3 separate regions of the Homo sapiens genome follow, and regions 1 and 3 are each linked to region 2. The links are contacts of gene promoters, found by promoter capture Hi-C in blood cells and fetal thymus (Javierre and others, 2016). All regions are on one chromosome and are shown on one strand. The core of a region is centred on a gene start or on the middle of the fragment in contact, and the rest is flanking DNA. Distances in the headings are between cores, read along the strand shown.

Evidence for each region. The method cuts DNA at HindIII sites, captures the fragments that hold promoters and counts their contacts. A CHiCAGO score of 5 or more calls a contact.
Region 1: a contact is called between the fragment with the promoter of OR52N4 here and the fragment with the promoter of OR52I1 in region 2, in 1 of 17 cell types (naive CD8 T cells). The highest score is 5.0, in naive CD8 T cells.
Region 3: a fragment that was not itself captured here is called in contact with the fragment with the promoter of OR52I1 in region 2 in 1 of 17 cell types (naive CD8 T cells); the score reaches 5.4 in naive CD8 T cells.

What each region holds. Positions count from the first base shown.
Region 1 is chr11:5,752,844-5,755,544 of GRCh38, reverse strand. It overlaps OR52N4 (olfactory receptor family 52 subfamily N member 4), which reads right to left and starts at 1,302. Exons shown (of 2, transcript NM_001005175.5): 1 at 1,240-1,302; 2 at 1-852. The coding sequence starts at 804. The HindIII fragment of the contact is 4,248 bases long and covers 1-1,375 here.
Region 2 is chr11:4,592,628-4,595,441 of GRCh38, reverse strand. It overlaps OR52I1 (olfactory receptor family 52 subfamily I member 1), which reads right to left and starts at 1,403. Exons shown (of 1, transcript NM_001005169.1): 1 at 429-1,403. The coding sequence starts at 1,403. The coding sequence ends at 429. It overlaps OR52I2 (olfactory receptor family 52 subfamily I member 2), which reads right to left. Exons shown (of 2, transcript NM_001405760.1): 2 at 2,102-2,814. The HindIII fragment of the contact is 4,139 bases long and covers 1-2,281 here.
Region 3 is chr11:6,342,604-6,345,581 of GRCh38, reverse strand. It overlaps LOC101927825 (a long non-coding RNA gene), which reads right to left. Exons shown (of 7, transcript XR_930998.4): 7 at 1-1,166. Among named protein-coding and RNA genes, the nearest start is that of CAVIN3, 24 kb to the right of the region's middle. The HindIII fragment of the contact is 3,393 bases long and covers 1-2,978 here.

The DNA of each region.
Region 1 (2,701 bases), core at 53-2,552, 1.2 Mb before region 2:
TTCCCCAAAGCGGTGGGAAAAGAAGGAGAAGAAAGCTGGAGTATAGGAGAAAACAATGGCACAAATGTGGGCAGTGCAGGTATTAAAGGCCTTCTGCCGAGCATCTGCTGAGGAGAGGCTGACCACTGCCCGGAGAATCATGGTATAGGAGTTGGTGATACACAGTATGTCAAAGCCCCAAATCAGGAGGGCAACCATCAGACCATAGATGGCATTGACCTTGACATTACCACAGGACAATTTGGCTACAGACATGTGGTCACAGTAGGTATGGGGAAGTATATTGCCTCTGCAGTAGGGCAGGAGCTTGGTGAGGAAAGTAAAGGGAATAATGAGTAATACCCCTCTCAGGAAGGTGGCAGTCCCAACCTTTGCAATTACAGGATTGGTGAGGATAGTTGAATAGCGTAAGGGGTAGCAGATGGCCACATAGCGATCCAGGGCCATAAGCATAAGCACCCCAGACTCCATCCCTGTGAAGGTGTGGGTGAAGAACATCTGGACAAGGCATTCATCAAATCCAATGTCCTTGAGATGAAACCAGAAGATGCAGAGGGCTTTAGGGATTGTACTAGAGCACATAACAAGGTCAGTAAAGGAAAGCATGGCCAAGAAGTAGTACATGGGTTTGTGCAGGGCATCCTCATAGTGAATGAGGTAGAGGAGTCCACAATTCCCTACCATAGCCACAACATACATAGAGCAGAATGGGAAGGAAATCCAGAGTTGTGTGTCTTCCAGTCCTGGGACTCCATTCAGAATAAATGAAGCTGGTATTAGGTCTGTTTTATTCAGTGTTAGCATGATAAGTCTGGTAGGTTATGAAATAGCTCAAAATTTGTCTGGGCTTTCCTAGAGTTAAAAAAAAAAACAAGAGAAAATATAGGTTATTTTTACTGTCTCCCTCTCCCCCAACTTTTAAAAATTCCATAATGCATTTTAATGGTCCAACAACCAAATTTCTGAGTGCCAAGAAATAATTTTGTTTGTCTGTTTAGTTTTATTGATTGATTAATTAATTGATTCAGTAAAAAATTCTTATTGAGCAGTCTAAGTTTTCAACACAGATGCCAATCAAACATCAATTATTTTATAAAAAGACATATTCCCAATCTCATAGATTTATAATCAAGTATAATTCTGACTTTTCAAATGGTATTTTTATTAGAATATCTTACTTAACTATAACTATACTCATCTCAATATAGATATAATTTTAAAGAAGAGTCATTTGATTACCTCACTGATGATCTGAGAGATGAGATGTTGACTTTTTAATTTTTATTCTTAATGACTGACTGATATTTATTCTTGGGTACTCAGGCACTGTTCAAAGAATTTTGAAATTTTAATTAAATTATTACTCAATGAAGCTTGGGGTCTCAAAAATTAGTAAATTTATTGGGTGTCTATACTCAATAATAATTTAATTGTATATTTTAAAATAACTAAAATAATATAATTGGGTTGTCTGTAACACAAAGGATAAATGTTTGAGATGATGGATACCCCTATTTACTTTACTGGGATTTTTTTTTTTTTTTTTTTTTTTTTTTGAGGCAGAGTCTTGCTTTGTTGCCCAGGCTGGAGTGCAGTGGCGCAATCTTGGCTGCAACCTCCACCTCCCGGATTCAAGCAATTCTCCTGTCTTAGCCTCCCGAGTAGCTGCGACTACAGGCACATGCCACCACGCCCAGCTAATTTTTGTATTTTTAGCAGAGATGGGGTTTCACTATATTGGTCAGGTTGGTCTCCAACTCCTGACCTCAGGTAATCCACCCACATCAGGCTCCCAAAGTGCTGGGATTACAGGCATGAGCCACTGTGCCCGGCCCTTTAAAAGGGATTATTACACATTGTATGCTTCTATCAAAATATCTCATACACCCATAAATATATACACCTACTATGTGCCCACAAAAATTTAAAATTAAAAAAGTCAATGAAGTTTTGATTCAATTTTTTCACTTTTCAAGATATCTTTCTTGTTCTTTATGTATCTAGTCAACGCAAACTAGAAGATATCCAAATGCATACATACAGAAAATATATAAAGTACTTCAACAACATCAGTAAGAAAAAGTTGCAGGAAGAAACATACACTTCAAAAGAGAAATAAAATTGCCAATGAACAGGTAAATAGGCACAAACTTTTATATTAATCAGAAAAATAAGTAAAAATTGTATCTCTCATGACAAAGCACCTTTTTTTGGTATGTAGTGACATACCAAACAGGACAGCTAAAATGAAAAGAACTAAAAATACCAAGCATTGGCAAAGATGTAGAACAACTGGAACTCTCATTTACTGCTGGTAGACATGTAAATTAGAACAACTCTTTATTAGATATCTCATAATGATAAACATACACATGACCACCATTGCCATTTCCAACAAAACTATGTATATATATTTACTAGAATACATCAATTAGAATGCTTATTGAAACATGATTTGTAGTATAGCCTAAAACTGGAAAAAACCTAAATGTTCATCAACATCAAATGGGTAAATAAATTTTGGTACATTCCCACAATGAAATACCACGTAACAATAAGAATAAACAATCTATGACTATATGCATAATATAGACGAATCTCACAATATGTGTTAATTTTTTTTAGAAAGACTTAAAATAGATGTAACATCTTGTGATCTTTAAATGAAATACAAAAACGGATCAAATTATTCTGTGCTATT
Region 2 (2,814 bases), core at 154-2,653:
TGGGCCAGAGGGCAGGGTCATATATTAATAGCTTCTTCCATGTAATCACTTGGAGGAAAGAACAGTTCTGAGAATATCAGTCAGGTTAAGGGGAAGATACCAAACAGTTGGTCTCTTCAGCAGAGGGGATGGTAGGATATTAGGTAGGAAATATAGGTCAGAAGCTATAGAAGGAAAAATTACAGAGCTGTATTCTATACCAAACTTACTCTGATTCAGACACTATCATATTAACCCATTAAAAATGTCAGAAAATTAGAAACATTTCATTCATATTATTGGTAGAAATTTAAAAGTTACACAAAGATATCCTTTATAGCTTCATCTCAGATTTCCTTATAGTACCAGGTAAACCAATCCAGCTCCACAGATCTCTGAGGCATCTTTGAAGTTGGCTAGAATGCTCTGGATCTGAACAGATATTGTGTTCATGAACCCAGGTTGGAGTGGTCAAAGAGGAAGTGCATCAGATAACTCCATATTCCCTCCAGCAATTGTTTGGTCCTCATGCCATAGATGATGGGATTTAAAGTGGCTGGGATGATCACGTACAGGTCAGCTAGCAGCACTTGGGTGTGCAAGGGCACTATATCCTGCCCCAACCAGGCCGCATAGATGGATGCCATCCCAGGTAGATAGTACAAAGCCATAACCCCCACATGGGAGCCACATGTGCTTAATGCTTTCAACTGAGCAGTCTTTGAGGAGAGATCAAATACTGCCCTGAGAATTAAGATATAGGAGGCAGCAATGAAGGCCACATCAGAGCCCACCATAAGAGAGGAACCAATCAGACTGTAGAGACTGCTGGGCACGGGGTCAGCACATGCTAACCTGGCCAAAGCTATGTGCTTACAGTAGGAGTGGACAACCACATTGGAGCCACAGAAAGGTAGATGATTCATCATCCAACTCAGTGGAGTCATGAATGTGACAGCTCTGATGGTGACGGCCATACTCATTCCCAGCATCACTTGAGGCGTGAGAATTCTCTTGTAGTGTAGAGGCTTGCAGATGGCTACATAGCGGTCAAAAGCCATGGTCAGCAGCAGCCCCGTCTCCACAGCTGTGGCTAAGTGGACAAAAAACATCTGAGTGAAACAAGCACTAAAGCTGATGGAGCTGTCTCCCGAGCAGAAGATGCTCACCATCTTGGGTACCACGGAGGAGGCCATAACAATGTCCACAGCAGCCAGAACACACAGAAAGCAATACATGGGCTCATGCCGAGTGGAATCCATCCAGATTGCAGTCACGATGAGGGTGTTTCCTAACAGGGCTGTGATGTACATGGCACTCAGTGAGATAGCCAGCCAAAGATGTGAAGATTGCAGTCCTGGGATACCCACAAGGAGGAAGGAGGCAGGGGTTTCCATTGTGTGGTTGTAAGCTGGACCCAGCATCACAGGTGAGACTTCTTGCCTATTAATGTATAGATGATGTAAGAGAATGGTGCAGTCCTATAAGATTAGTTCCTCTTTGTGGTGCTGGGAAAACCTAGGGATATTCTCAGCTTGGTGGTATGGCAGGATCAGAAAAATGACTTCTAATACTGTGCTACTTTTCATCCTCCTTACAAGTTTCTATTCATTGTTGAAGGATCAGCTCGTGAATTCCTTCCTTAGGGACTTGTGTTCTGCTCTCTTCCTCACCCAACCCCATGCCCAGGTTAAGTTAATTACCTCTTTTGCAGTTTCCTGAAATCTCCTGTAGGGACTAAATCGACAATTCCAGTACTGTATGAGTTTATGGTATTCACTCAAGTGCCTTATAGGAAGATTGTGATCCATAGCTGTGGTCACAAGTCACTTGAGTGAAGATATATATACTCATTACAGTAAACAATTTCCACAGAAAGAACGATTAACAGAGGAAAGAATGACTTATCTCTGTGTGCTGTTACTAAATGTTGAAACCAGAACTTCTTGAAAACAAACATCACATTTTATATGCTCAGCATATTGCATAGACAAAACATAAATTCAGCATTCTTGTGATTCATGAAGTACGTTAGTAAGTTCAGTAAAATAAAACCATTAGAGAATAACATTATCACATTTTACAGGTGATTATAAATTATCTATAAATAAATATAATCCTTACCTTCTCTAAATTTACCCTGGATCCTATTCACTTTGGTTCAGTTAATAGATTAAATTACTACAAGGAAAATCTTAGGGTTACCTTATAGATGACCCCCCCTCCCCAATAAGTTGTTATGGTTCTTTAATACAACTAACTCCCTCTTCCTGATAACCAAGATGTTCCAAACAAGAAAGCTTTATCCTTTAGAAAGTTAAGCACTTTATTATTAACACAGTATGTGCCAGTACTATGTTAAAAGTGTAGTATTCATAATCTGAGTGTATTTCTCCATTTGTAATATAAGACAAACATCCATTCCATACAACACAGTTTGTATAACTTAGATTAAATATTCTAGCCAAGATCATGTAGTACGTGTGTGGTAAGTTTTGGGTTTAAGCTATGACTCCCAGGTGTCCATCCAGCCCAACATAAATAGTCAACAAGACAACTATGGATAAAACAAGGTTAGGGGTTTCACTTGGCCACGTTTGATGAGACAAAGATAGCTACTGCTGTGCACAGCCAGCAGCTGAGCTCTACCACTTGTTCATCTCTGTTTATTGATGTATTCACCCTCCATTGCCTCATTCAGGTGTTACCATATCATATAATATGTAACAATCTAAGTGGGGAAACCTGAATATAAAGAAGTCAGCATTAACTACCATTCTATTCCTGTGTGATAGCTGTTTAGTTACTCTCTCCTTAGGATGATTGGTTTCCATG
Region 3 (2,978 bases), core at 156-2,655, 1.8 Mb before region 2:
AGGTGATGCAACTAGATGTAATTGCTCTTAGAGTATCAGAAAAATATGAGCTGATTGCGTTATTATTAGCTCAGAAACAGTCATTAGGTCCTAAATAAATCTAACAAGATAAAAAAGCATAGATTTCAGTGATGGCTGAAATTACTCCTTCAAAAGGGATCTAGGTATAGAAAACTATTAAGGTGTAGCATCTCACAATCAGGGTGGAGAGAGAGAGAGACAGAAAGAGAGAAGGAGAGGGAAGGAGGGACGGAGAGCATGAGGGAGATTATAGCATGAGCAAATAGGGACTTATTCCTTAAAGATGGAGACAGATACACCAGCTAGTTACAGAAAAACTTAATGGGGTTGAGAGGAAGACCAGAAAGATTACTGTAAAGTACTCAAAGCATCACTAGGAGTTTCCAGATAACAGCTTATTGTATGTCGTATCTCTGCTATGTGGAAGTTTAAGTACTCCCTGTGTCCTGAGAAAATATGTCTGAAATATTTATAAATCAGGGACCTAAGCATAGCAGAGATAGGATGTATTAATGTGGAACCAGGAAGAAAAATGCTGCATTGGGTCTATTGGATGCTGGTCTGTTGAAAGAACACCTTCTGTGTGGGATTATCCAACTCTGGATGGAAACTTTTGAAGAGTGAGTGCTTTGGCATAACCAGAACCCATGATTTTATGTCTTAATTATTAGCCACAAAATAAAATCTAGAGAAATAGGGTAGTAAAACAAGTGTCCAGTAGCAGAAAGAGCTGCTACTCAAGTCCTAGACTATTCAACAGTCAAGAAAAGACAGTGTCTTAAGAAAGCTCATGGCTGAATTATTGACTGGTATTTATTAGGTCTGAGGCAGATGACCAACCATCCTGGTTTTTCTGGTTTTAGCATTGAAAATCCTGTACTCAAGGTAAACCAGGATAGTTGGTCACCCTATTAATAGAGGCCCGAGTTTCCAAAGTGTCAACAGCATTTTCAGTTCAGGAATCTGGTGATGGTCATTCTCTAGTGGGAACAAATGCAGAGAGAGAGAAACTTCCCTAGGAAGCAGGTTTCTTGGGTTGAAGACATTATTTAACAGGATGCAGTGGTAGCAGCCATATGGGTAACAGGACTGAAAAATGCCGCTTGCTGTCATCTCAATGCATCAGAGCGCTATAGTCTTGGAAGCTGCAACACAACAGGCATGCACTTGGGGTACACTGGGATGCCAGAGCTTGGGGCTCAATCAGTGTATTTTTTTTTTTTTTTTGGGAGATGGAGTCTTGCTCTGTCGCCCAGGCTGGAGTGCAGTGGCTCGATCTCGGCTCACTGCAAGCTCTGCCTCCCGGGTTCTCGCCATTCTCCTGCCTCAGCCTCCCGAGTAGCTGGGACTACAGGTGCCCACCACCACACCCGGATAATTTTTTGTATTTTTAGTAGAGATGGGGTTTCACCATGTTAGCCAGGATGTTCTCGATCTCCTGACCTCGTGATCCACCCGTCTGGCCTCCCGAAGTGCTGGGATTACAGGTGTGAGCCACCGCGCCTGGCCTCAATCAGTGTATTGAACTGTATAGGAAAATTTGAGCAGGCTGGATGGAAATTAAAAAATCCCTTCAATAAGGCCTAATGACTGAGGTGGCATCATTGCAAATTTCTACACTTTGCAAAAAGAAGAGAATGTTTCTGATATCTCTCTCTCAGAGCGTTGGGGGAAGATATAACTGCACGATTAGATTTACTCCAAAAAGTTATTAAATGCAGAGTACTTAAATAGGAGAGATAATAGTATAAAGATTCACGTACCCATTACCCACTTTAACAATAATAAACTCATGGTCAATATTGATTCCTCTATATAAATCAAGGGGGAAGCTATAATTTTTGTATACCATCTGTGAGTGGGTGGGTTAGTCTCCCTAATTCTGGTGTTCAGAATCAAGGGACCCATTTGCTAAATGATAAAGCCACATTTGCCAATGTGAATTTTATCAGTAATACTGTGGTTTTGATCTCTTATTACCTTGTTTTTTTTTTTTTTTTTGAGACAGTCTTGCTCTGTTACCCAAGCTGGAGTGCAGTGGATGATCTCGGCTCACTGCAACCTCCACCTCCCGGGTTCAAGCGATTCTCCTCCCTCAGTCTCCTGAATAGCTGGGATCACAGGTGCCTGCCACCACGCCTGGCTAATTTTTGTATTTTTAGTAAAGATGGGGTTTTGCTATGTTGGCCAGGCTGGTCTCGAACTCCTGACCTCAGGCGATCTGCCTGCCTCGGCCTCCCAAAGTGCTGGGATTACAGGTGTGAGTCACCATGCCCGGCCTCTTATTACCTTATTCTTTTACTTTATTTCCCAGTTCGTTGAGAACTAGAACAAGAAATTGGGATATCAGTGCCCTGAAATCCTCCAACAACCACTGAGAATAAATAGGCTAGCTACTTTGATTAGATAAACTTCTGTACCTACCTGGACCACAGATCCTGTAAGAGTGGGCCATAACCGACTTTCATCTCATTTCATTACCCCTGGGCAACAGCTGATTAGATCTGACCCAAGGCTACCAGTTAGATGCTCCCTCTCTTTATTGCTCAAGGAATTAAACTATGAGGCCAGGCATGGTGGCTCACACCTGTAATCCCAGTACTTTGGTAGGCCGAGGCAGGTGGATCACCTGAGGTCAGGAGTTCGAGTCCAGCCTGGCCAACATGGTGAAACCCCGTCTCTACTAAAAATTCAAAAATTAGCTGGGCGTGGTGGTGGGTGCCTGTAATCCCCGCTACTCAGGAGGCTGAGGCAAGAGAATCGCTTGAACCCAGGAGGTGGAGGTTGCAGTCAGCCAAGATCACACCATTACACTCCAGCCTGGGTGACAAGAGTGACACTCCATCTCAAAAAAAAAAAAAAAAAAAAAAAGTTAAATACAGCACAATGACTGCAATCATTTGATGGATTTGATGGTAGGCACATGAGCTGAATTGGGATGGCTATTATCACAACAT